6 separate regions of the Homo sapiens genome follow, and all the other regions are linked to region 6. The links are contacts of gene promoters, found by promoter capture Hi-C in blood cells and fetal thymus (Javierre and others, 2016). All regions are on one chromosome and are shown on one strand. The core of a region is centred on a gene start or on the middle of the fragment in contact, and the rest is flanking DNA. Distances in the headings are between cores, read along the strand shown.

The links. The method cuts DNA at HindIII sites, captures the fragments that hold promoters and counts their contacts. A CHiCAGO score of 5 or more calls a contact.
Region 1: a contact is called between a fragment that was not itself captured here and the fragment with the promoter of OR9A2 in region 6, in 2 of 17 cell types (total B cells and naive B cells). The highest score is 6.9, in total B cells.
Region 2: the fragment with the promoter of GSTK1 here is called in contact with the fragment with the promoter of OR9A2 in region 6 in 7 of 17 cell types (neutrophils, monocytes, erythroblasts and 4 more); the score reaches 10.7 in neutrophils.
Region 3: a fragment that was not itself captured here is called in contact with the fragment with the promoter of OR9A2 in region 6 in 11 of 17 cell types (naive B cells, total B cells, M1 macrophages and 8 more); the score reaches 13.5 in naive B cells.
Region 4: a fragment that was not itself captured here is called in contact with the fragment with the promoter of OR9A2 in region 6 in 5 of 17 cell types (total B cells, naive B cells, monocytes and 2 more); the score reaches 10.2 in total B cells.
Region 5: a contact is called between a fragment that was not itself captured here and the fragment with the promoter of OR9A2 in region 6, in 1 of 17 cell types (naive B cells). The highest score is 5.1, in naive B cells.

What each region holds. Positions count from the first base shown.
Region 1 is chr7:143,165,290-143,169,686 of GRCh38, forward strand. No RefSeq gene overlaps it. Among named protein-coding and RNA genes, the nearest start is that of TAS2R39, 16 kb to the right of the region's middle. The HindIII fragment of the contact is 1,069 bases long and covers 2,557-3,625 here.
Region 2 is chr7:143,261,905-143,266,370 of GRCh38, forward strand. It overlaps GSTK1 (glutathione S-transferase kappa 1), which reads left to right and starts at 1,537. Exons shown (of 8, transcript NM_015917.3): 1 at 1,537-1,681; 2 at 2,182-2,263; 3 at 2,644-2,772; 4 at 3,088-3,188; 5 at 3,357-3,392. The coding sequence starts at 1,610. All of the region lies in intron 2 of TMEM139-AS1 (TMEM139 antisense RNA 1), which reads right to left. It overlaps LOC105375546 (a long non-coding RNA gene), which reads left to right. Exons shown (of 3, transcript XR_007060569.1): 3 at 1,244-1,303. RefSeq lists a silencer at 1,355-1,424 and enhancers at 1,452-1,746, 1,565-1,784. The HindIII fragment of the contact is 19,965 bases long and covers 1-4,466 here.
Region 3 is chr7:143,186,872-143,191,397 of GRCh38, forward strand. No RefSeq gene overlaps it. Among named protein-coding and RNA genes, the nearest start is that of TAS2R39, 5.7 kb to the left of the region's middle. The HindIII fragment of the contact is 2,520 bases long and covers 1,312-3,831 here.
Region 4 is chr7:143,225,972-143,230,511 of GRCh38, forward strand. No RefSeq gene overlaps it. Among named protein-coding and RNA genes, the nearest start is that of TAS2R40, 6.2 kb to the left of the region's middle. The HindIII fragment of the contact is 8,703 bases long and covers 1-4,540 here.
Region 5 is chr7:143,243,372-143,247,523 of GRCh38, forward strand. LOC105375546 (a long non-coding RNA gene) reads left to right here. Exons shown (of 3, transcript XR_007060569.1): 2 at 746-905. Among named protein-coding and RNA genes, the nearest start is that of GSTK1, 18 kb to the right of the region's middle. RefSeq lists a silencer at 3,530-3,706. The HindIII fragment of the contact is 1,078 bases long and covers 923-2,000 here.
Region 6 is chr7:143,025,539-143,030,128 of GRCh38, forward strand. OR9A2 (olfactory receptor family 9 subfamily A member 2) reads right to left here and starts at 1,594. Exons shown (of 1, transcript NM_001001658.1): 1 at 662-1,594. The coding sequence starts at 1,594. The coding sequence ends at 662. LOC105375544 (a long non-coding RNA gene) reads right to left here. Exons shown (of 2, transcript XR_001745395.1): 2 at 3,722-4,590. The HindIII fragment of the contact is 3,416 bases long and covers 1-3,391 here.

The sequences.
Region 1 (4,397 bases), core at 1,841-4,340, 140 kb after region 6:
TTAGAATTTTCAATTTTTCTGTTCTGTGTCTTCCCCATCTTTGTGGTTTTATCTACCTTTGGTCTTTGATGATGGTGACGTACAGATGGGGTTTTGGTGTGGATGTCCTTTCTGTTTGTTAGTTTTCCTTCTAACAGTCAGGACCCTCAGCTGCAGGTCTGTTGGAGTTTGCTGGAGGTCCACTCCAGACCCTGTTTGCCTGGGTATCAGCAGGGGAGGCTGCAGAACAGTGAATATTGCTGAACAGCAAATGTTGCTGTCTGATCGTTCCTCTGGAGTTTTCGTCTCAGAGGAGTACTTGGCCATGTGAGGTGTCGGTCTGCCCCTACTGGGGGGTGCCTCCCAGAAAGGCTACTCAGGGGTCAGGGACCCACTTGAGGAGGCAGTCTGTCCGTTCTCAGATCTCAAACTCCATGCTGGGAGAACCACTACTCTCTTCAAAGCTGTCAGACAGGGACATTTAAGTATGCAGAGGTTTCTGCTGCCTTTTGTTCGGTTGTGCCCTGCACCCAGAGGTGGAGTCTATAGAGGCAGGCAGGCCTCCTTGAGCTGCGGTGGGCTCCACCCAGTTCGAGCTTCCCAGCTGCTTTGTTTACCTACTCAAGACTCAGCAATGGCGGGCACCCCTCCCCCAGCCTTGCTGCCACCTTGCAGCTCAATCTCAGACTGCTGTGCTAGCAATGAGCGAGGTTCTGTGGGCGTGGGACCCTCCAAGCCAGGTGCGGGATATAATCTCCTGGTGTGCCATTTGCTAAGACCATAGGAAAAGTGTAGTATTAGGGTGAGAGTGACCCGATTTTCCAGGTGCCATCTGTCACAGCTTTGCTAGGCTATGAAAGGGAATTCCCTGACCCCTTGCACTTCCCAGGTGAGGCAATGCCTCGCCCTGCTTCACCTCACACTCAGTGTGCTGCACCCACTGTCCTGCACCCACTGTCTGAAAAGCCCCAGTGAGATGAACTCGGTACCTCAGTTGGAAATGCAGAAATCACCTGTCTTCTGCGTTGCTCATGCTGGGAGCTGTAGACTGGAGCTGTTCCTATTCAGTCATCTTGGAACCGCCCCCCTCTAATTAATCTTTTATTGTGTTTTCTATGATTCAAAATAGTCAAAATCCATTCCCAGGCATCTTCACCTCATTCCTGTTAATAAAATTTAGCCAGCACTTTGGTGAGTCATCTTTTCCTTTCCATTACAGGGATAGTCCTTCCTTTCTTTGGTCACACTGATACTTGGCCCTAGCGATTGTCTAAAATCAATGGGTTGAAAGACATGGGCAAATTTCAAGAACAAGGTAAAACATTATCTCAGATGAGGTCTATGCATGTTCTCCATGCAAAGAAAGTTTGCTCTTTTCTAGCAAACTTTAAAGATTCAGGGAACCTGGAGATTCAACGTTCTTATGTGCGTCTATCCAAATCTCCTAATCCCAATCCCTAGAATACATTTAGTTCTCACAAAGGTCCTAACTTTATCACAGGAATCTTTGCTAAGGCTGTGAATTCAATCCTTTTTAAATATGCCACCATTACTATGAAATCTTAGGCCTTAGTATCACTGATTTTCTGTAGGTGTACTGAAAATTGCAAGAGGTGAGAATTTTTTAAACTGCCTTGAAGACCTTCTGACTTTGAAACTATATTTTGAGTTGATCATTGACATATCTGACTCTGTCATTTCTTCTGGGTTTCTTTTTTTCTTTCTTTCATTTTTTTTTTTTTTTTTGAGACAGAGTCTCACTCTGTTGCCAGGCTGGAGTGCAGTGGCATGATCTTGGCTCACCGTAACCTCCGCCTCCCAGGTTTAAGCGATTCTCCTGCCTCAGCCTCCTGAGTAGCTGGGACTACAGGCATGTGCCACCACACCCCGCTGATTTTTGTATTTTTAGTAGAGATGGGGTTTTGCCATGTTGGCCAGGATGGTCTCAATCTCTTGATCTTGTGATCCGCCTGCCTCAGCCTCCCAAACTGCTGGGATTGCAGGTGTGAGCCACCGCACCTGGCCTTCTTCTGGGTTTCTATAACCAATCACAGCAGTCATCCAGTGCCCCAACCCTTATAATTATTCTTACTTATAATTATCCATGTTTTAATAAAACACTACAGATACCTCATTCCAACCTATCCAAAGTTAAGGTTTTTTTAGTTCAATATATCCCTGCTTGTCTATTTTTGTTTTTGTTGCTGTGCTTTTCTTGTCTTATCTAAGAAATTGTTGTTAATGCCTATATCAAGAAGTTTCTTCTCTGTGTTTTCTTCTAGGAGTTCTATAGTTTCATGTCTTATGTTTAAATCTTTAATGTATTTTAACCTACTTTGAGTTGATTTTTGTGTATGGTGTAAAATAATATTTCAGTTTTATTCTTTTGCCTATGAACATTCAATTTTCTCAACACAATGTGTTGAAGAGACTATCCTTTATCCATTATGTATTCTTGGTGCCCATGTCACAGATCAGTTGACCATACCTGAGTAGGTTTATGTCTGGGTTCTCTATCCTGTTACATTGGTCTATGTGTATATCTTTATGCCAATATCATGTAGTTTTAATTACTGAAGCTTTGTAATATATTTTGAAATCACGAAGTATGATACCTTCAGCTTTGTTCTTTCTCAAGATCACTTTGGCTGTTTGGGATCTTTTGTGTTTCCATATAAATTTTTAGATCATTTTCTCTATTTTTATTAAAAATGCCATTGGGGTTGAATGGGGATAGCTTGAATCCATATATTGCTTTGGATAGTATGGATATTTTAACAACACTAAGTCTTCCAATCCATGAACACAGGATGTTTTTCCATTTATTTGTGTCTTCTTTAGTTTTATTCATCAATGTTTTGGTGTGTGTGTATGTCCTTTACCTTCTTGGTTTGGTTTATTTCTATTTTATTGTCTTTGATGCTTTTGTAAACGGAATTGTTTTCTTAATTTCCTTTTCAGGTGGTTCATTGTTAGTATATAGAAACTCAACAAATTTTCATAGGTGAATTTTGTATCCTGTAACTTTAATGAATTTGTTTATTCATTCTAAGTTTTTTGGAAGTGTCTTTGGGATTTTCTACACACAGTATCATGTCATCTATGAGCAAAGATACTTTTACTTCTTCTTTTCTGATTTCATTTGAATGCCTTGTGATTTGATTTACATGCTTTGTATTTCTTTTTCTTGCCTAATTGACCTTGTTAGAACTTCCAGTACTGTATTAATCCATTTTCACATTGCTATAAAGACCTATCTGAGACTGGGTAATTTATGAAGAAAATAGGTTTAATTGACTCACTGTTCTGCAGACTTTACAGGAAGCATGACTTGGGGGATCTCAGGAAACTTACAATCATGGCAGAAGGTGAAGGGGAAGCAAGGACCTTCTTCACATGGTGGCAGGAGAGAGCTAGGAGAGAGCTACACACTTTTAAGCCATCAGATCTCGTGAGAACTCACTCACTATCAGGAGAACAGCAAGGGGGAAATCCCTACCCATGGTCCATTCACCTCGCACCAGGTCCCTCCTCTAATTCAACATTAGATTCAGGTGGGGACACAAATCCAAACCATATCAAGCACTATGTTGAATGGAAGTGATGAGAGGGGGCATCTTTATCTTGTTCCCGATCTTAGAGGAAAAGCTTTCTGTTTTTCACTGCTGCGTATAATACTAGCTGCAGGTTTGTCATACATGACCTTTATTATGTTGAGAAAAAATCCTCCTATACCCAGTTTGTTGAGAGTTTTTATCAAACTATAAATTTCTCGATAGCAAAGGAAATAGTCAACAGAACTGAAAGGCGACCTGTGGGATAGGAGAAAATAGTTGCAAATCATATGTCTGATAAGGGTTTAATATCCGAAAAATATAAGAAACCCCTACAACTCAATAGCAATAAGTAAGTAAATAAATAAATAAAAATTACAAAATGGGCCAGGTGCGGTGGCTCACTCCTGTAATCCCAGCACTTTGGGAGGCCGAGGAGGGTGGATCATGAGGTCAAGAGATTGAGACCATCCTGGCCAATATGGTGAAACCCTGTCTCTACTGAAGAAAAAAAAAAAGCAAAAAATTAGCTGGGAGTGGTGGCGGGCGCCTGTAGTACCACCTACTCAGGAGGCTGAGGCAGAAGAATCACTTGAACCCGGGAGGCAGAGGTTGCAGTGAGCCGAGATTGCGCCACTTCACTCCAGCCTGGCAACAGAGCAAGACTCCATCTAAAAATAAATAAATAAATAAATAAAAAATAGAGAAAAGAGTTGAATTGCTATTTCTCCAGAGAAGACATACAAATGCCTAACAGGCATATGAAAAGGTGTTTAACATAACTAATCATCAGGGAAATGCAAATCAAAACCACAATGAAATGTCATTTCACACCTGTTATAGTGGTTATGATTTTAAAAAAGG
Region 2 (4,466 bases), core at 287-2,786, 240 kb after region 6:
CAAATCTCTGACAAAGGTAACACAAGAAAATGTGTACTCTGAGAACTTCTTATTCTGCCCCAGTTTAGGAGATTCATGCAACTGCCAAGCAACAATAATAAGAGCTAGCAGTTATTGGAGTACCTCATTCCTCACAACTCGTCATAAGGCAGGTGTTATCATTAGATATTCCCCATGTGTATGCAGGATGAGGAAATAGGTTCAGAGAGGTCAAGTGGCTCACCCAAGGGGCACAGCTAAGTGAAAGGCACTGCAGGCATCTCAAACTACCCCCTTCCCACAAGACTCCACTGCAGAGCAGGACAGTCACCCTGACACCAGCCCAATGGGTTCATCTTGCCCATTACCCAGATGGGGCTAATTTATCAAGACAAGGGAATTGCAATAGAGAAAGAGTTTAATACACATAGAGCCAGCTAAACAGGAGACCAGAGTTTTATTATTACTCAAATTAGCCTCCCAAAATTCGGAGGCAGAGGCTAGGGGACTTTGTGGGTTTTTTTGTTTTTGTTTTTGTTTTTCTTTTGAGAGGGAGTCTTGCTATGTCACCCAGGCTGGAGTGCAGTGGCATGATCTCGGCTCACTGCAACCTCTGCCTCCCGGATTCAAGCAATTCTCCTGACTCAGCCCCCCGAGTAACTGGGATTACAGGCACATGCCACCATGCCCGGCTAATTTTTGCATTTTTAGTAGAGACAGGGTTTCACCATGTGGGCCAGAGTGGTCTTGAACTCCTGACCTCAAGTGATCCACCCACCTCAGCCTCCCAAAGTGCTGGGATTACAGGCGTGAGCCACCATGCCCGCCGGCTAGAGTTTTTTAATGATAGTTTGATGGGCAAGGGGCTAGAGAATGGGTGCTGCTAATTGGTTGGGGATGCAATCACAGGGGTGTGGAAAACCGTCCTCAGTGCACCGAGTTGCATTTGGATGCGGGCCACAGAGGAGTCACTGGTCCAGGTGGAGTCATCCTGTCATTAGAAATGGAAAAGTCTGAGAAGGTATCTTCAAAGGCCAGTCTTAGGTTCTACAAAAGTGGTTATTTACAGGAATAATTGGGGAAGTTGCAGAGCTTGTGACCTCTGGAACAATGTCTGGTAATTGTTAATGCCTACATCTTAGCAGAATTCAGGCCCCTCTCATAATCCTAAACTTGTGGACTTTTATTAGTTTTATAAAACTGGTTTAGTTTGGGGAAGGGCTATTATCATTTAAACTATAAACTAAATTTCTCCCTATATTAGCTCGTCCCATGCTCAGGAATGACCAAGGGCAGTTTGGAGGTTAAAGGCACGATGGAGTTGGTGAGTTCAGATCTGTTTCACCTTCGTAATTTTCTCACTGTTAAAATTTTTGCAAAGGCGATTGCAGCGCCCCTTGTCCACACCTGCGCGCTCCCCAAGGGGTCCCTACCCACCCCGCCCCTGGCTGGGGGCCGTAGGCTGGCCCTGCCCCGCTGCGCCGGAGGTGGACCTCTACCAGGGCAGTTTCTCTCTGAGGCTGCGCGCTAAGGCGGTGGGCGGTCCCAGGCAGGCCCAGAAGCTGGGCAGCCTCTGCCGGGTTCCGGGAAAAGGAGCTCCTGCTGCCACTGCTCTTCCGGAGCCTGCAGCATGGGGCCCCTGCCGCGCACCGTGGAGCTCTTCTATGACGTGCTGTCCCCCTACTCCTGGCTGGGCTTCGAGGTGACGCTGGGAGGGGTCGCCTCGGCAGTGTCTGGGGAGTGAGGGCGGAGGGAAGAGTGAGCGCAGGGCTCCGGGACAGAGGTCTCGTGTAACTCCTGGCGCCGCCCAAGGGGTTAAGGCAAGCAGGGAGAGCTCCGGGGCTGAAGGTCACTTTGTGCTTTTAAACGGAATAGAGTCGCTGGCTCCAACCCGAGCCTTTATATCCCGACTGCAGTTTCCCACGGTGGTGGAAAGAGGGGCGGCTCCAAACATTCAGGGAGAAATGCAGAACACGGCCACCTCTTAGCCCAACGATGGCAGTTTTGGGGAAAACTGGCCACAGGAGCGAAGATCCTGGAATAGATTTCTAGTAGTGAGGAGAGTTTTGCCAATTTCAAACCAAACAATGTAGGGTGTCCGCATAACCCCTGCTCTGCACTTAGCGCCTCCCTTCCCTTTCCCTCGGCTCTTTCACTTTTCCATCTTGCACACTGGCAATCGTTCTTGACCTCTGCCCGCAGATCCTGTGCCGGTATCAGAATATCTGGAACATCAACCTGCAGTTGCGGCCCAGCCTCATAACAGGGATCATGAAAGACAGTGGTAGGAAGGGAGGGTCGGGGCAGGGGTGATCTCAGTGGCCCAAGAGAGCCGACCCCAGCGGGTCCTTATATTGGCACTGGCAGCCAGAAAGCTGCCCTCTGCCCCGTCTCTACTAAAAATACAAAATTAGCCGGGCGTGGTAGTGCATGCCTGTATACCACAGCTACTCGGGAGGCTGAGGCGGGAGAATCGCTTGAACCCAGGAGGCGGAGGTTGCGGTGAGCTGAGATCGCACCATTGCACTCCAGCCTGGGCAACAAGAGCGAAACAACAAGAGAAAAAAAAGGAAGCTGCCCTCTGCCCAAAACCCACGTCGAGGTCCCCAAACCTGGGACCCTTAGGTCTTTTCTCACTTAGCGTGCCCAACCTTCTCCTGGCAGGAAACAAGCCTCCAGGTCTGCTTCCCCGCAAAGGACTATACATGGCAAATGACTTAAAGCTCCTGAGACACCATCTCCAGATTCCCATCCACTTCCCCAAGGATTTCTTGTCTGTGATGCTTGAAAAAGGTGAAGAGAGTGGGATGTAGACAGGGTATCCAGTGAAAAACACAGAAGTCGGAGATTGAGGGATTGATAGGATGGAGGGGCTGCGGGAGACTAAAGCAAGTGAAGCCTGCCTTGGGAAACCTCAGGATCAGCCTTGAGCGAGCTGAAGGTTGCCGGGCATGAAAGGGAAGAAGAGCAGGCAAATAGGTCATGGGAACCTTGGGTGAGAGGCTGAGGGCGGAGGAGCTCTGGGGGATGTCAGAAGCAAGGAAGAGCTAGTCCTCCACCAGGAAAGCAGCAAGAGGAGCCCTGCCTCTGGGTGCCTCTGCCCCACAGGAAGTTTGTCTGCCATGCGTTTCCTCACCGCCGTGAACTTGGAGCATCCAGAGATGCTGGAGAAAGCGTCCCGGGAGCTGTGGATGCGCGTCTGGTCAAGGGTGAGTGTGGGGCTCTGGGAATCCTCTGGGAGGACCTTGGATGACTTTCTGACCTTCCCCAGGCACGTTTTCAGGGTCATGATCCTGCCCCCGCCCGGGGGATCTACTGTCCTCCCAGTCACACCCCTCTCCCCGCACCGCCTTCCTGCTGTCTTCTCTTCTTCCCAGAATGAAGACATCACCGAGCCGCAGAGCATCCTGGCGGTGAGTGTCCTGGCTCCACCCCAACTGCACTCATAGAGAATCTGAGAACAGTTGGCGTTTGGGGGTAAAGAAGACAATAGGTCTCTTATTGCATGGAAAAGGTTATAATTACTGGGGAAGAAAGGATGTCTGTGATTCAGGGCACAAACTACTGAAAAGTTGGAACTAAGGATCCTCAAAAGGATATCTCAAGGTTGAAAGGGGAAGTGCAAAAGGGACAATATATGGGAAGAATTTATTTGCTGAAAGATGTCAGTGAGAGAAAGATGCTCAGTGTTGGAACCCCTGGATGGGGAGGGATATAGTATTCACAAGTCTCCACAAACTCCAACACAAACCTCACCAACACATCCAGAGTGGAAGGCAGGAGACTTGTTCCAAGAGGCTTTAAAAAGACGAAAAGAGATAACTAATGCCAGGGTTATATAGGAGCCTGAGTGAGAACAAATGGAAATAGCTCAAAACATTGACCAGTGAGCCATGGATGGGGGTATAAAAGTAAGTTTGTCTTCAGGATTAAATTAGGAAATTCAAAACAGTATTATTCCTCTGGTTTACAAAAAAAAATAGTTGAGACCTATTCAAATTTAATATATAAAGTGGCAAATCACACAAAAGTTAAACGTATAAGGAATGGCAAATATATCTTCTACAGTCTATACTCCTGCAAAGTACATGTGTAATTTTTAGCTTGCTTTTTTACTTCATATTTAATCATTTTCCATGCTTTTTTTTTTTTTTTTTTTTTTTTTGAGACACGGTCTGGCTCTGTCGCCCAGGCTGGAGTGCAGTGGTGTGACCTCGACCCACTGTACCCTTTGCCTCCTGGACTCAAGCAATCTTCCCACCTCAGTCTCCTGAGTAGCTGGGACTACAGGCACACACTACCATGTCTGGCTAACTTTTTTATTTTTTGTAGAGAAGGGGTTTCACTGTGTTGCCCAGGCTGGTCTCAAACTCCTGTGCTCAAGAGATCTGTCTGCCTCCACCTCCCAAAGTGCTGTGTTTACAGGAATGAGCCACTGTGCCCAGCCTCCATGGAATTCTTAACTCTGAAAGTATAGTTCTTTGTTT
Region 3 (4,526 bases), core at 1,322-3,821, 160 kb after region 6:
TATTCCAGTTGCTATGTATACAATGAACAGGGCTCTTGTCATCATGGATCTTCTAGTCTAGTGGGAAAGCATTGGTAATAAAACCTAGAATGAATAGCACATCATGGTGGTGGTGTTAGATCAGCCCAGTCAGGAAAGGCCTAAATGAGTAAATAAGATATAAAGAGGTAATTGTTAAAAATATAAATCTAGGCCAGGCGCCGTGGCTCACGCCTGTAATCCCAGCACTTTGGGAGGCTGAGGCGGGTGGATCACGAGGTCAGGGGTTCGAGACCAGCCTGGCCAACATGGTGAAACCCTGTCTCTACTAAAAATACAAAAATTAGCCAGGCGTGGTGGTGGGTGCCTGTAATCCCAGCTACTCAGGAGGCTGAGGCAGGAGAATCGCTTGAAACCAGAAGGCAGAGGTTGCAGTGAGCGAAGATCACACCACTACACTCCAGCCTAGGCAAAAGAGCAAAACTCCATCTCAGAAAAAAAAAAAAAAAAATATATATATATATATATATATATATATATATATATATATATATATATATATAAATCTAGATAGAGGAATAAGTTCTAGAGTAGCACTGTAGGGTGACTTATAGTTAACAATAATTTACTGTGTATTTTCAAATTGCTAGAAGAGAGGATTTTGAATGTTTCCAACACAAAGAAATGTTTGAAGTGATAGATATGCAGATTACTCAGATTTGATCATCCCACATGGTATACATGTACCCAAATATCACTGGGTCCTATTAATATGTACAATTACTACATGTTAACTAAAAATAAAACAAAATTATAAAAATAAAAAATTATAAATATAAACCAAACATTTAGGATAATTACGAAATAAATCTAAGGAAATCAGAACATATTAAATATTGATTTGATAAATAAAATATAAAAAAGTTAAAACGGATACAAAACTGGTTCATTGAAAAGAGGCAGTAAAATTGGCATCATTAGCTTACATAATCAAGAAAGAAAAAAGGCATAAATACACAAAATAAGACATGAAAGAAAAATAACTACAAATCAGAGAAATTGCAGTACTTTTAAGAAACTATTTTGTTTAACTCTATGCTAGAGTTTGAAAACGTAGATAAGATAGATGTTCCTAGAAAAATATAATTTACTAAAATTGACTTCAAGAAAATCTAAGCAGAATAATCATCACAGTTGAGCTAGAGAAAGTTGTGAAGAGCCACTCCTCAAATAATGCTGGCACCAGATGTTCACAAGGGAATTCTATCAACTTTTTAAAAGCAAATAATATGAAGTCTATGTAAATTGTTTCACAGCACAAAAGTTAAAGGAAGCTTCCAAATTTGTTTTGTGAAATAAATATAATTTAGATATCAAAACCTAACAAAAATTGTCTCCCAGAAAACTACAAATAAACCTCACCTCACTTATCAGTGTTTATACAAAAATACTAAATAAGATTTAGTATTAAATTTAAATCTAGAATACAGGTTTATTTCATAAAAGTAAAGATGGTTTAATATTAGAAAACATATCAATATAATTAACCATATTAATAATACTAAAGAGACAAATCATATAATAATGTTAAGTGCTGAAAAATAAAATTCAAGAACCATTCCTAATTATTAAAAAATCTTACAATAAAAATAGATGATTTCCTAACATGATAAAATATATCTATCTCTTAATAGCTAGCAAGCATCATTCTTTTTTTTTTTTTTAGACGGAGTCTCACTCTGTTGTCCAGGCTGGAGTGCAGTGCGATGGCACAGTCTTGGCTCACTGCAAACCTCTGTCTCCCAGGTTCAAGCAATTCTCCTGCCTCAGCCTCCCAAGTGGCTGGGATTACAGACATGAACCACCGTGCCTGGCTAATTTAACAGCTAGCATCATTCTTAATGAGAAAACATTATTATTTCCATTAAATTCAGGTAAAAAGACAAAGATGTTTACCCTCACCCTATTAACTGATGTTAACCCTAGATAAGTATCCAGTACAACTAGAAGAAGTGAAATTAATTTAAAGGATTTTAAAAAATTGGAAGTTTCCTGGTGGAGTATCTTATCTGCAGATGGTTATATAAATAAAAAACCCAAGAGAAGCAACTAAAATATTATTCTAAATAACAAAAGCATGAAATATGGAAGGAAAAAAATAAACAGCAACAAAAAATAAGATACTAGAGCAATAAAGTTAACAAAAAATGAGCACGACTGAAACAGGAAATTTTCCCTGACCCCTTCATAGGCCTCACAAAGGGAGTTGCTCGTTTATTCAGCCTGCAGCTCTCAAATCCTTTGTAGGAGGGGAGGCATGCAGGTGAGTGGGTGCAGGGACCAGGAGGAGTTCTGGATGCCGGCAGGAGCAGAACTCCTTGCGGCCCCACAGCAGCATCCAGCGGGGTACCCATGACCCCTGGAGCCCCAGAGGGCATGTGTTACTGTGCTCTTATAGCTTTGCTATCCATGTACGGCTTTAGTGTTTAACAGCTCAGTGTGATAGCCCTCTGTATCTCAAGCTCTTGTTGGGCATCCAGGAAGAATCAGGTCGCAGGAACAAACTGAACATGGTAAATGCAGGGGATTTTATTGCTGATAAAAGTGGTTCTCAGTGGGATGAAGGGCTTGGAAGTGGATAGAGCAGGAAGGGGGTCTTCCTCTGGAGTTAGGCCATCTCTTCTCCAAGGTCCAGCTATCAAGCCGACCCTCTGAAGTCAAGCTGCTTCTTGCCAATGTTAAGCTGCTTTTTCTCTTCTCTCCTCTGATGCTCTGCTGCTAGTGGAGCCTGGGGTTTTTATGGGCACAGGATGTGGGGGGCGGGGGTGGAGCAGGCCAGGGTAATTTGGAAGAGGCAACATTTAAGCGGGAAAACAGAAATGCATGTTCTCACTTTGGGCTGTGAGTCCAGGCTTGAGGGTGGGGCTTCAAGAAGGACCCGCCCTTTTCTACCTAATATTTCGCTGCCTCCTGTCCATATCACAATCTATATGAAGACTACTTTTAAATGCTTCAGATATACACACAGAAGACTTGAACAGGAGAAAGGCTACCATGCTATTGAGTGGAAAATGTCAATGTCATCAGATACAACATTTCCCTAAATGAATCTACATTTACTGTAATTTGACACAAATGCCAAAAATTTTTTAGACAGATAATAAACATAATCTGGAAAAAATGAAGCAAGAATGGCCAGAAACATTCTGAAAATGAAAAAGTAATGAGGGAGGACTAACCCCATGAAATAACACACATGTTATGAAGCTGAAAAACACAAAATAGTGTGACAGTGGAAATCAATACTCAATAAAACAGAGTAGACATCCAGAAAAATGAGAATTTAGTATATGGTAAAAGTGGTATTAGTAAAGGAATAATGGATTATTCAATAAATTATGTTAGAACAACTAGCTAGCAAAGTGGAAAAAAATTTTGGATGTCTCTCTCACATCTTATACTAGGCCAAATAAATCAAATAATTCATGTTTTTATTTAAAAAAGGAACTATTAAATATTAGAAGAAATTTTGGAGATTTCAAAGTTAATTTTAGAGTTGAGAAGACCCTTCTAACCATGATAAGTGAAAAAACAAGCATAAAATGATTTATTTAATCTGGTTACATAAAGTAAAAAGATACTACATGGCAAAAACTACCTAAGCAAAGTCAAAGACAAACAAGAAACTGGGAAATAATATTTGCCACTCACATTCCAGATAAAGATTAATTTTCTGAATATATTAAGAGCTCATACAAATCAATAAGAACAATTACTGAAGTTAAAAATTGGCAAAGGATATGAACTGATAGTTAGAGAAAATGAAATAAAGGTGGCTTTTAAGAAATTAAAAGCTTATAAAATGTGAAAAGGTATTTAAAAATTAAAATTAAAAATCATCCATTATCCTTCAACCCAGAGACAACTTTTAAAGCGTGTGTGTCTGTGTGTGTGTGTGTGTGTGTGTGTGTGTGTGTGTAGTTTAACAAAACTGGGTTCATACTAAAGTTTTTGTAATCTTTTGTTTTCATATAACATTTAGATGATTTTTCCAATTCATTAAGTTGCTTTCAGAAGTTTGTTTAAAAAATTTAAAGGATGCTCAGCCTGATTTACTACAAGAGAAATAGAAATAAGAACTACTCTGAGATGTACTTTTTCACCTATCAGATTAACAAAGATCAAAAAGTTTGAAAACACACTGTGCTGATGATCATAGGGACCAGGTGAGCTCATAAATGATGGAAGTGTTAATTGCTACTGCCTCAAGTACAGTTTAGTAATAGCTATGAAAATCATGGTGGTACATACATTCACTCAAGAATTTTACATGAGCGAAACAAGAATACATATACTTGAACACATAAAAGATAACATATGTACACAGGTTACATGTTACAGCATTGTTTATAATAGAAAAAATAGGAAAATCATAGGATATCATCAATACAAATTGATATCAATACAAAGGTTCAGTGTAAGAAGCTATAGAAAGAAAATATTAAAAGAGGCACAAGAAAGAGAAAGATAGAAAGAGAAAGGAACCA
Region 4 (4,540 bases), core at 1,398-3,897, 200 kb after region 6:
TTCACCATGTTGGCCAAGATGGTCTTGATCTCCTGACCTTGTGATCTGCCCGCCTCAGCCTCCCAAAGTGCTGGGATTACAGGCATAAGCCACCGCACCCAGCCAAGAAAAATCTTTAGAAGAGAGGTAAGAGGAGGAAATTTCTTATGTACTCAGAAAGATTTGTTTGGGGGAGAAAGAGGAGGACAGAACGGCTAAAAAGCCAGTCTGTAATGTTTGAAGGCTGGGGGAACTCTCTGTACCCTTTTCTAAATGGGGGAAGCGTTGCCTAAAATAGGAGAGGCAAAACTTTCAGGGAAATGCTCAAATCAAGTGTATGCTGGGAAGAGGTAACATGTTACACTGCTACAAGTTTCTGTTGACAGGAGGAAGATGGAAGCATTTTGGAGCCTGTGACATGGCCCAGGAAGGGCAGGCCTGGGCGGAAAATGGGAGCAGACAGCAGAAAATGGGTGGTGTGAAGGGCTGGGGCAGTGGGAACCTAAAGGGGAAGATGTGGAGGTGTTGAGTGCTGAGTTAATCTTGGCCACTCTCAGTTGGGAGAAGCTCTTAACTGACAATTCTGCCTAGGCCTGTGGGGATTACCCTGTAAGCAGCAAAACAAAGTTTTCCAAGAGCTTTGAAGAGGAGCATTTCTGGGTTGGACTCTTCCCTCCCAGTGTGGTATTGCAAAGGTGCTCTGTGTCTGTGGCGCTAGCCCATCAAACAACGTCAGTAGGAAGAATACAGATTTGTAAAAAATTTTCCTGGTTTGTCTCTCATTTGGTTTTTCTTATTTTTTTTAGCAAAGTGTCTTATGAATGTTCTACCCTCTTTCAGTTGCATCAAGAAGAAAATAAGAGAAAAGTGGTTTTGAAGATAGCCCAAGAAAGAAAAGTACCAGCCACCCCCTAGGTTTAGTATGGCAGCAGTAGCAGGAGGGGATCCAAGGCAGGGTGGAGCATTAACAGAAAAACCTGCATCCCCTCAACTTCCACACCCCCGCCCGTGCAGTTCCCAGAGTCGTGAGACTGGGTTTGGGTCCTGGCTCTGCCACTTACTGGTGTGCAAATGGGCATGTTATTGCATCTCTCTGAACCTCAGTGTCCACATCTGTAAAATGGGAACAATAATGGGAAATACCAGCCTCCTAGGGTTATCTCATCCTAAGAGAAGAATGGGGTAAAGTGTTTAGCACACAGCATCTGACCCAGAGTAAGCCATCAATAGATGTTAGCTGTTAGTATTCCAAAGGGAAGTGGAGTGACACTGAGAGGCATCTAGAATGAGGATATTTAAAGCAGGCCAGATATGAAAAGGACAGACCAGACTGGGCCAGATGCACACAGAAGGCTTAGCCTTTATAGTCCCACAGGCTTGGTGGCAGAACATGGCCATGGATCCAGTAGTTCAGTCATCCAAGTGGCAGGTGAAAAGTGTAGGGTGGCCTTAAGAATTGGATTCCTGTTCACTTCCTGACAATGTCAGAAATGAAAGACATCTAGTATTCCACAGTTTAGCTGCCCGACAGTTATCTGAGTGTAGATTTGAACCTAACAGGCACTAGGTTAGGGGTCAGCAAACTTTTTCTGTAAAGGACCAGAGAGTAAATATTTTAGGATTTGTGGGCCACATGCAGTCCCTTCCAGAAGAATTCAACTCTTCTGTTGCAGCACAAAAGCCACCATGGTGATTCAAAAAATAAATAAATGGACATGGGTGTGCTCCAGCAAAATTTTGTTTATGGACACTGACATTTGAATATCATATAATTTTCACGTGTCATGAAATATTATTCTTCTTTTAATGTTTTCAACCATTAAAAATGCATTTTTAATAAATGCCTCTTGCATTTTTAAATGGTTAAAAAATTAATATTTCATGATGTGACATTTTGTTGGAGCACAGCCATGTCCATTCTTTCCCAGCTGTGCACTCTTGGAGGGTGAAATTTTTGCTTAGTTGATCTCGTGGGCCATACAAAACAAAAAGAATCAGTGGGTCAGATTTGCCCCCAGGCTGCAGTTGCAGACCCTTCACTCAGGCATGTTCTCCTACCCCTGAAGGCACAGCATTCCCCAGGACCCAGTCACACTTCATTGCAAAACCAGGGATACTTATTGTGGCAACTTTTGCCATGTTATTTTTTCTTTCTTTTTTTTTTTTTATTATACCTTAAGTTCTGGAATACATGTGCAGAATGTGCAGGTTTGTTACATGGGTATACATGTGCCATGGTGGTTTGCTGCACCCATCAACACATCGTCTACATTAGGTATTTCTCCTTATGCTATCCCTCCACCAGCCCCCCACCCCGCAACAGGCCCCAGTGTGTGATGTTCTCCTCCCTGTGTCCATGTGTTCTCACTGTTCAACTTCCACTTATGAGTGAGAACATGCGGTGTTTGGTTTTCCGTTCCTGTGTTAGTTTGCTGAGAATGATGGTTTCCAGCTTCATCCATGTCCCTGCAAAGGACATGAACTCATCCTTTTTTATGAATTTTTGCCATGTTTTGAACGTGGCAACTTCCCCAATATTTTTGCCACTTTCAATTTCTCCAGCTTTTCTCTGTCCCTGTGCAATCTTTAAAATAGAGTCCACTAGCTCTTTGTAAAAAAATAAAATAAAAAAATAAACAGAAAGCTAATGTTCTAGTCCCCTGTCTCCCACCTGCTAAGGATAGACACGGAGCCCAAATTTTGTTTCTCCTTAAGGCTTTGAAAGCTATTGCCCTGAAGCTACTCACTTGATAACAATGAGTTTGAAATAGTCATGCCTCTACAAACCATCTCTGTTGAGGTTGAACACTAGGCTTTCTGAGTGCTTTCTCCTTGTGAATTTGATCCAGCAGGGCAATGTTTGTATTTTTGTGTTCTTTTAGATGACTAAGCAACAGGCTGGTTTATTGAATAATGATGGGAAATGTGGTGTATAGAAAGAATCTACATTCGGTGTCAAAGATCTAGACTTCAGTCTCCATTCTGTGTGATCTTGGGAAAGTCACTAAACCTTTCTGAGCCTCAGTCTCCCCATCTGGAAAGCAGAAATAATCATAACATCCGCTACACATGGTTGCTATGAGACTCAAATAAAATATGTCTATAATAAATTGTAAACCACGATATGAAGATAAGTGCATTCATTCATTCAACAAAAATGTATTTCTTAATGCATTTTTAGTAAATAAAGATCAACTCAACAAAAATTTTACCCTCCAAGAGTACACAGGCTAGAAAAGAATACTGGATTAAATTATAATGTGAAAAATTCCTGAGTAGTCATCTATGTACTGTGGAGTCAGGAATGTACCCTAAACCTCAAATGTGCACAATTAAAACGCCTATCCTCTAAAAACAATTTTTTAATCCTGATCTTCTTTCCCTAGTTCCTTCACCGTGGGGAGCAGATAACTCAGGACAAAATCCTTTTCTCTCGGTCTTACTGAGCCATTTAGGAGAAATCAGGGCTGAGAGAAAAAGAAATTTTCCACTGAGCTTCCTCAGAGATTCCCATCAGAGCCTGAGGATGGAAAACAGAGAAGGGTCCCATTACATCTAGCCCTCCCGAGGGAAAGCTGCTGTTTGCATTTCCTGCCTACAGCTCTCGGGACTGCAAATAAATCAGTGGTTTATTCAAACCAGTAGCTGGAGAGTAGATTATGGCTGGCGGCCCTGAGTGCAGCTGAGACCATGAGTGATGGAAATGCTTGGCAGGGAGGGAGTGGCAATGTGACCTGCGGAAAACACCAAGACCCCATAGGCCCGTTCTTCCCTCATCTCACTGCTCAGTGGAATAGCACCTGACACTCACACTCTACTCATAAGAGTTAACTAAGATTTGTTAAGATTTATGTGAGATTTATCTTAACATAATAAAAATTAAATATCTCCAAATACTACAAGAAATGGTCTTAACCTCTTTGTTATCTAATCAAATTGTTAAGTGATTCAAACACCTTTGCCTAATATTTTATCTTTCATGAGTTATTTCACTAAGTTTTGTGTCTATATTCTAATTTACGTTTTTGGCACTGATGGCATTAATTGTACCCAATGGCAGAATTTTTTTTTGAAGGCTAAATAACTAAAAAACATGCCTAGTAAGTCCTGATCTGAATAAGTTAATAATATTTTAAAAAGTCAAACCTGTGGCCTGAGTCTCCATTGCCTCTGATCCCCTTAAGGGTGGGGCACTGTTGGCCACTCTCTCTGTTTTAAAGATCTTCACCCTTGACTTCCATATCTATTCAGCTGCCTGAGTTTTCTTCTATTTCCTTATCCACCAAGTACCCTTCAAACATACAACTACTCACAATTTGTACCCTTTATCTATTGCCACCACTAAGGTGACCAACCACTCAGATTTTATAAACTGAAAGTTCCACAACCCAGAAAACCTCTCTGTCCTGGATAACCTGGGACAGTTGGTCACCCTAAGCTCCACCCAAATGACTGAGGCTAAATTCAGGTAACAAGTATTACCTTTCAACTCAGCTATGATATTCACACCAATTCCATAACTTTGTGAACAAGAAACCTATACACATTCACTTGAACCGCA
Region 5 (4,152 bases), core at 212-2,711, 220 kb after region 6:
CTCACAAAGGAATTAGGGAGAATAGGAGTCTTGGCAGGCAGTATGGTTTAGGGCTTAAGATTTGGAAGCTGGGTTAAGATCGCAGTTCTGCCTTTTACTAGTTTACATGATTTTTGGCAAGTTACATTCCCAGAATAATAGCACCTAGATAGAAAATATCCAGGCCCTAAGAATGTATTACCAGAACTCAAAGACCCCAGAGGAATCTTGCTGTCGCCTTAAGTATGCTTGAGTCTTTGCTCTAGGTAGTTCCTATCTCTTCAAGAACAATCCTTCCTGCATATCATCAATCATGTGTATGTTAACCTAAAAGCCCCACAGTGCCTCTCCTTACTAGTTTGCTCCGAACATGTTAGACAGTGGGCTGCCTCATTCTTTTGTAATCCTTGGCAAAGTGAAGATGCAGAGAGTGTTGTGATCACATCAAATCTTGAGAGCAGTAGTAGGTGATTGCTGTGGTGACCTTTAACATCAGAAAGAAGCAATTGCCAGCCAGAGGTGAAGGGTCCTCTGAGCAATTGGCTCGGGAGCTCCTGACAGGCAGCCCATGCATTGTCACTGACACGTGCTTTGTAGCCTACCAGCTGCTGTATTAAAAAGAAATCCACCAGCCACACAGACTAAGTCAGTAGCTAGAATGTTATTTTGAAGGTAGTTATTGGTCCAGGAAAGAGGACTTTGTCACTGGAGAGTTTAAAAATCTCATTTTCAAAACACTCCCTAGGTTTGTTCATGTTTCTCACAGAAAGGACGTGAAAATGAAAATACTTGAGTGGCCTGAGATTTGCCTAGGGAATCATCTTAGAAGCAAAGAAGGAAAAGAACATCACGGAAATTCCCGCAGGCATAATTCCATGGACAGAACTAGACAACGTATTCTCTAGCAGTTTTGAAACCAAGATCAGGTAAGGGAAAGAAGGCAAGCTTTATTTATTTATTATCTTTTTTTGAAACTGATGACAGTTTAAACAAAGGAAGTAGCCATCAAAGTTTAGTGTTAAGGTCACAGAGGTTCGTGGTGAATGGCATAAGTTCAATTCCTACTGCCACCATTCACAGGCTTTATGACACTGTAGAAGTTTCACCTTCAATAAAAGGGAAATGATGATGATAGTATCTACCTAAATAGCCACTTTGAAGAACAGTTTGTCCATTTCTTAAAAAGTTAAACATAGACTTACCATTAGACCTAGTAATTCCACTCCTAGGTATCTATCCAAAAGAACACACATGTCTATGCCAAGACTTGAATGCAAATATTTACAGCAGCACTATTCATAATGGACAACAACCTGAAACAATCCAAATGACCATCAACAATGTGTTACATCCATACAATGGAATACTATTCAGCAATAAAATGTTTAAAACTATAAATACATGCTACAGCATAGATGAACTTCAAGAACATTATGCTAAGTAGAAAAAAGTCAGATGCAAAAAAAAAAACTACGTATTGCATGATTCCATTTATATGAAATTTCCAGAAAGGACAAATCTATAAAGACAAAAAGAAGATCCGTGGTTTCTTAGGGGGTGGGAGTGGGATTGAGTGCAGGTTCTCAACCAGGATTGACTACAAAGTAGCAAGCACCAAAGAAAAAAAGAAAAGACTTTGAGATGATGAAAACATTCTAAGGCTGAATTGTAGTGATGGTTGCACAACTGTATAAATATACTAAAAACTATTGAATGGTACACTTACAATGGGTGATCTTTATGGCAAATATATCAAGTTGCTAAAAAATGGTACTTACCTTGTAGGGTTGTTAAAAGGATTAAATTAGTTAATATTTATAAAGTACTTAGAAGAGTGACTGATGTAGTAAGCTACATGTGTGTTTGCCAAACAATAAAAATAAATGTGGCTGTGTGATTCATCGCAAGAGTAAATTACTAACAGTTCCTGTATGTTTTTCTACACCAACAGGAAGCAATTCTGAGTACTTAGGCAATGAAATTACTTCTTTTCTATAAAATACGTTTTTAAGATCACACTAAGCTTGAGGTTATTCCAGGAGAGATTGTAAATCTTGTCACATGACTTTGCCTTGCCTCTACCTGCCGTAGCTCCAGCCTCATCTCTCACCATTGCCCTCCTTCAAATCCTTCAGCTAAAGAGAATTTCTCTCAGTTCCTCAAGACTCCAGACAATGGGCTTTTCCATAATGTTGCTGGCTCTGTATGGAATATCTATCTGCTCTTCCTCTCTGCTATTGGCTGAATGTGTGTGTCCCCACAAAACTCATAGGTTAGAATCCTAACCCCCAAGGTGATGGTATTAGGAAGTGGGGGCTTTGGAAAATGATTAGGTCATGAGGGTGGAGCCCTCATAAATCGGGTGGGTGGCCTTATGAAAGGGACCCAGAGAGTTCCCTGTCCTTTCTACCACATGAGGACACAGGGAGGAGATGGCCATTTGTGAGCCAGAAAGTGAGCCCTCATCAGACACCATATCTGCCAGCTCCTTGATCTTGGACTTCCCAGCCTCCAGACCTACCAGAAATAAATGTCTGCTGTTTATAAGCTATGCAGTCTATTGTATTCTATAATTGCAACCCTGACTACAGTGCTATCCACGGTCTACTTACTTCCTACCTACAGTTCAAGTCTTCATTTAGGGTTACTTCCTCTGAGAAGCATTCCCTGATTCTTTCTCAACATCCTTAACACTCCTTCCCTCAACACACACACACACACGCACACACAAAACACACTTTGTATTGAATTTGCCAATTGATGTTTTGCCTTTTGACTCCCACATCAGATGGAGTGCTTATAACCCCAAGCACTCAGAACAGTGCATGAGGCAGAGGAGACACTCAATAGACACCAGTGCAGGTTTGCAACCAGGGTGATTTTGATGCCACCAGGAAACACTTGGCAATTTTGTCACCTTAAAAGTTCCCTCATGCCAATGTTCAGTCAATCCCCACTCTCACTGCCAGCCTTAGGAGAAACCACTGATTTGCTTCCTGTCTATTCTGAAAATGTTATGCAAATGAAATTGTATAACACATAGTACTTTGCATCCATCTTCTTTCATTTAGCATAATATTTGGTGGTCACACCTGGGCACCTAGTGGCATCCAGTGGGTAGAGGCCAGAAATGTTACAAAAACATTTTTACAATAAACACAACAGCCCCCACAACCAATAATTATCCATTCCAATGTGTCAATATGCTGAGGTTAAGAAATCCTGCACTAGTGAAATGAATAAACGTGTGAATTAATGAACAAATGAATCCTCTTTTCTGACATGAATTTAAGGATTGTTCTCACTATCCTTTCAAATTCTTTTAAAAAAAGAAGAGTCTCTGAAAATATTTCCATATCCCTTCCCTTCCCACATTTCAACTTTGTTTCTCTAACAACTGTGTTTTCAAAGAACGGCTCAGAATGGGAGAAATACCAGGATTATTGCACTGGGGACACCGATGTTCTGCACAGGCTCCCTTAGACATAAACCCAAGCAGGTGAGGTGCTGCCAGCAGCCTTCAGCTGTCAGCCCTGAGCTGAAGAGTCACCTCAGCCAAGGTCAGGGCCCCTTCCCAGGGCAGCGCATAACCTGAGACTAGCTCATAAGGGGATGTAAAGTCCCAGCCAACTCACCGGAACTCAGTACAATCTCAGAATTCCTTGTAGAACTGACAGGGTCCTTTGCTGAGACAGCATCACAGCACCACAGCCAACCTTTCCCTCTGCCTGACTCTCTCATTTTCTTCCCTTCTCTTCCCATCCCATCACTTCCTCTCCACAGGTGTTGATCATAAAATCAATCCCTGATAAAGCTCCTCCACTGTAATCTTCAGGAGGCTGCCTCCCAAATGTGACAATGTGAAACAATGACTCTGGCTTCTCAAGTTTATATTGGAGCACAAAAACTTTTAATGTACAAAAATATATATTTATAAGATAATCTATCATGACAGACACCAGATCAGTGGGGATGGAGGGCAGGGAGAAATGGAGGAAGGGATTGCAAAGGGTCGTAAGAAAATTTGGAAGGAGGGTGACATAAATGTTCATTATCTTGATTGTGATGGCAAGTTAACAGGGATATACACATGTCAAAACTTACCAAGGCATATACTTTAAATATGTGCAGTTTATTATGTGTCAGTTAAACTTCAATAAAGCTGAAGAAAGA
Region 6 (4,590 bases), core at 344-2,843:
CATTTTTATCCTCAAATATTTTTATCTTCTTTACACCACAAATATCTCCTGAATGAGAAGCATTCCAATCCTCATATCGCCATTCTAGACTGGTTCTGTGACAAAACGTAAACAGTGTTACACTTCCTTTCCAGTATCAATGGGGCAGAGAGAAAGAGCTTTAGGATATCTAAAATGCATATGGCCATCTTGCCAAAAAATTGCACAAAAATATAGGGAAGAACTTAGCAACAGGTGATGAAGGACCAAAGTGAGCATCTCTACCTTTCTACTCTGATTAGGACACCTTTCTCAGTACACCTCCCTCCACACTTCCTCCCTTCCCCAGAAAATACATTTTCAGAGATGGACTATGAGGAAATGAGTTGGGCTAATAGAATTCTTACAAAAATGTCTGCATTTCCTTTCTCTAGTCCCCCCCAAATCACAAGAATATGTTCAACAGTGGAAACAGGCAGGAACTAAGGCTATGAGAGTCTCCTGGACAGACAATGGATTTCATTATTACCAGCCTAATCTACTTCCATGGTGTGATGGCGAATTGTACACACTCTTTGACTTTTGTAATGAGAGGATAAGAGAAAAGAGGAGTTAGAATTTTCTAGGTGACTTAATAATTAACCCTGAGGCTTGGACCACCTAAAACTGACTTACAGAACAGCTAATCTTTCAGGAGTTGACAGCAGCGTTTCATCCCATCTCGGAGGGCCTCTTTGACTTTGTCATTCCGAAGAGTAAAGATGAAAGGATTCAGGAAGGGGGTTAACACAGAAACCAACAGGGAAACTATCTTATTGTACTCAACTCCCTGTGTTTGCTTGGGTTTCACGTAGAGAAACAAGCAGCTGCCATAGCCAATCACAACACAGGTGAAGTGGGAGGCAAAAGTGGAGAAGGCTTTCCTCCGGCCAGAGGCTGACGGGATCTTGAGGATGGTGGAGATAATGTAGGTGTAGGAGACAATCGTAGGGATCAAAGAACCAATGAGAATAAAAACAGCCATTAAGAAAAGGATAAACTCTGTGAGAAGAGTGTTATCGCAGGACAGTTTGAGCAATTGCCCTCGGTCACAGTAAAAATGGTCTAATGAATTTGATTTGCGGAAGGTAAACTGAAATGTGGCATAGATGGGCCAGATTTCAGAAAGAAATCCAAACACCCATGACACTATTACCACCCAAATACAGGTACTGCTGTTCATAATGATGTTGTACCTCAAAGGGTTACACACAGCCACATAACGGTCCACAGCCATCACTCCAAGTAATGCAAACTCCATGGTCCCACAGGAAAAGTTGAGCGATACATGTAGAGAAAGATACTGTCTGCATCCCAGGAAGAGCAATCCCCAAAGCATCATGGGGACAATTATGGTTGTGACCAGGATCTCCAGGGTAGAGAGGTGGCTGAGGAAGAAATACATGGGGGACTGCAGACGTTTATCCACACAGACAATCACAATGATGACCGTGTTTCCCATTAATGTCACTAAATAGAAGAAAAAGAATATAGCAAAAAGAATGTGGTGTAGTCCTTGGGACCCAGGGAAGCCTAGAAGGTGGAATTCAGTGGCACTAGAGTGGTTGTCCATCATTTAGTCCTTGATTCTGCTTGTTTTGAAGCCCAGAGATTAAAAGAGAGGTGGCATTGCTCCACATGGTCCTGCTCTCAAGAGAGAAGGAAGAAAAATTAGGTTAAGAAACTATTTCCAACCTGAGAATCAGGTGACATGTCCCTGCTACTGTGGTCGGCACATACATAGCTTGAGGTACATGTTGTCATCCCAAGTCTACAAGTGAGGCTCTCACTTCCCTGTGTAACCAGCCCCCTAGAATGGGTGAAGACATCTTCTTCTACTGGTGGTGAAATACCTTCCTTGCCTTTTTCCCCATTAAATATACCTTCTCTCGGGGGCAGAGGCTAAGACCTTTTAAATAGGCCAGTTTTAAAGGTGAGTCAATCAGGTCCCTCCGGTCCTGGAGTTACTTTCTCTTAGGTTAACTGTGCAAGATGACACAAAGGCATTTTATATGATGTTCAAAGGACAGAATTTTAAACCCCAGCTCTCATCTGTAATGGTAATGCATAGACCCACCTTTGGGGCCAGCAGAAAGGAGGCAGAGGATGTAAGACTAACATCTCTGCTGTTCCAGATTTTAAAATCTCCATTTTACAGAACAGCAAGATCTCTAAATGAGAACTCTAGAGCTTGGGATAATTTCCCAGAACAGATCCATTCTTCTCTAATTCCATTTTCCTTCCAAAGTTGTGGGAGGAAGGAAAGATGGCACCTGGCACAGAAAAGGAATAGATCTGGGACCGCCAGCTGTTAAGGATGCCTGGCTCTCTGCCTGTCGCTTCATTCCATTATTCAAATGTCACCCTTTCCAAAGACTCTTTCCAATCACTCTGCCCAAAACAGAAAAGACACACTTATTATTGGACTTCCATTTTTTTAATAACAGTTGTTATTACCTTGTATTATGTCTAATTATTTACTTCATTCCTTTATTTAACAATAAACAAATGTAGTCATGAACAGAACAAAGAAAATTCCATGCCCTGTGGAGCTTATATTCAAGGAAGAGGTGGGGGCTAGACCACACACAAGACACCTAAGTAAAATATGCAATAGTTTAGTTTGCTTATCATGTCACAGGGAAAAAAATAAGCAAGAAAGAAGGAGAGGAAATTTAAGTGTATTTATTATTTATCAACGGCATTAGAATATAAACTCCATGAGGGCTAGGACATGTCTTCACTGTTGTATTCTGAGGCTGGCACATAAAATGTACATACATAAATTAAGTAGTTATATATTTTATATATATATATCATATATCTTTTATATAGATATAGACAGATACATTATGTGAAATGAATATATCATAGATATATCTTATATATTAAATTATGTATTAATTTATCACAAGGTAACCGAACTAATAGCTGTGTGAGTCAAGATTTGAACCTAGGTCTGTCAGATTTCATCACTCACACAGCTAACTACCACACCTTATATTATATTATTATCTTATATTATTTATCTTATTTATATAAGATATATGAAATAAGATATATGAAATATATCTTATATTATATAAAATATACATATATTTTTTATTTATAAGATATTTAAATACATAAGATATATGTATCATATACATAAAATAAGTAGTGCTGACAAATTTTGCTAGATGAGGTATGGATGGATGGATGGATAATATATGATTAAATAATACTTGTTCTGGCCAGGGCCTGGGCCACATTCCCTCAATCCTATTCTGGTTGGTTTTCCTTCCTGCCTCACATTACCATTTTCCCTCCTGCCCTTCCCTTGCTTAGGTAACCCCTTCCCTGTCTACGTCACTGTTTTACTAATGGTTTAAAAAGCTTCAGGGACAGAATTGATGGGAAAGCTCAGTGTTCTGGTTTTCCACAACCTCTGCATAACCAGCACGAGATGAAGAAACATGAGCGAGAAGGACACCGACTGTCAGGGAGCCGTGACTGTGTTAGCATTGGGTCCAAGAGGAGCCGGAAGTGCTCTCTGCTATGCAGGAAGGGTCTGGAGATGAGCCTATACACTCTACTGCTCCCCTAGCCCACACTTCAATATCTGGGTGACTTTGTTCTAGAAGATAGGCAGGCCCAGGATGTCCCATCCTAAAATGCTTTTACCCTCTTCTTCATAGAGGAGACCCCTTGGAAAGACACTCACCTTTACAGAGGGGCTTCGCCGCCTCTTCTGATGTTCTCTAGGGCTCCGCTGAGGCTACCTCCTGTCCTGCTAGTGCTGAGCCATGCACAGGGGCCAGAACAAGTTGCTGCAATCCCCACTCATGGCGAAGAAGGGAAATGTCCTCCCAGAGGAGCTTAGGAAAAAGCCCAGAAATGAGTGTTGGGCAAAGTTGAGGGTCCTCTCTCTCTCCCCTCTCCTCCCTCTTCCCTTCTTCCCAAGGGTACTTAATCACCGAGTTACTACTTCTTAATTAGCCCACGTTCAGGGAGTCCCCAGGCAATCAGTCTAGTGGGAGCAGAACAAACTTTAAGTTATTCCCATTTTTTGACCAATTAAGTTTTAGAACTTTTGAAAGTTTTTGTTTGACGGGAAAACCTGAAATCTTACCAATCAGGGACTTCTTAATACTGGGGCTGCCTTCCTGAAAACCTCAGGTCTAGGTTTCCAGATGTCTCAGATTCTAAACAGTCAACTACCTCTGTCGTTTATCTTAGGCTTTTCTCAAGTTTCTCTAGTTATTCGGAGCCTAAATCAACCCTTTTCCCCCAGTAGGAGACACCACAATTGGCCTCTAAAACATGCACCAATATCCCAAAAAAGTCTGCATATTGGTCTTGGTCAAAGCCTTAACTTCACCAAATATCTTCTAAAAAGCCTGATGACTCCTTCATTCATTTTAAAAAGGCTCCTGCGTTTAGTCCTGTGGACCCTACAGAATACTGTAAGAGGTCCCTCCCCTAAATCGAACTCTATTCTGTTCTATTGTCTCAGGTTTTCACTCCTCTTGATATATGTGCATCTGTATGCATTCCAGCAAGATTCTTCCAGACTTTTTTTTTTCCTATGGC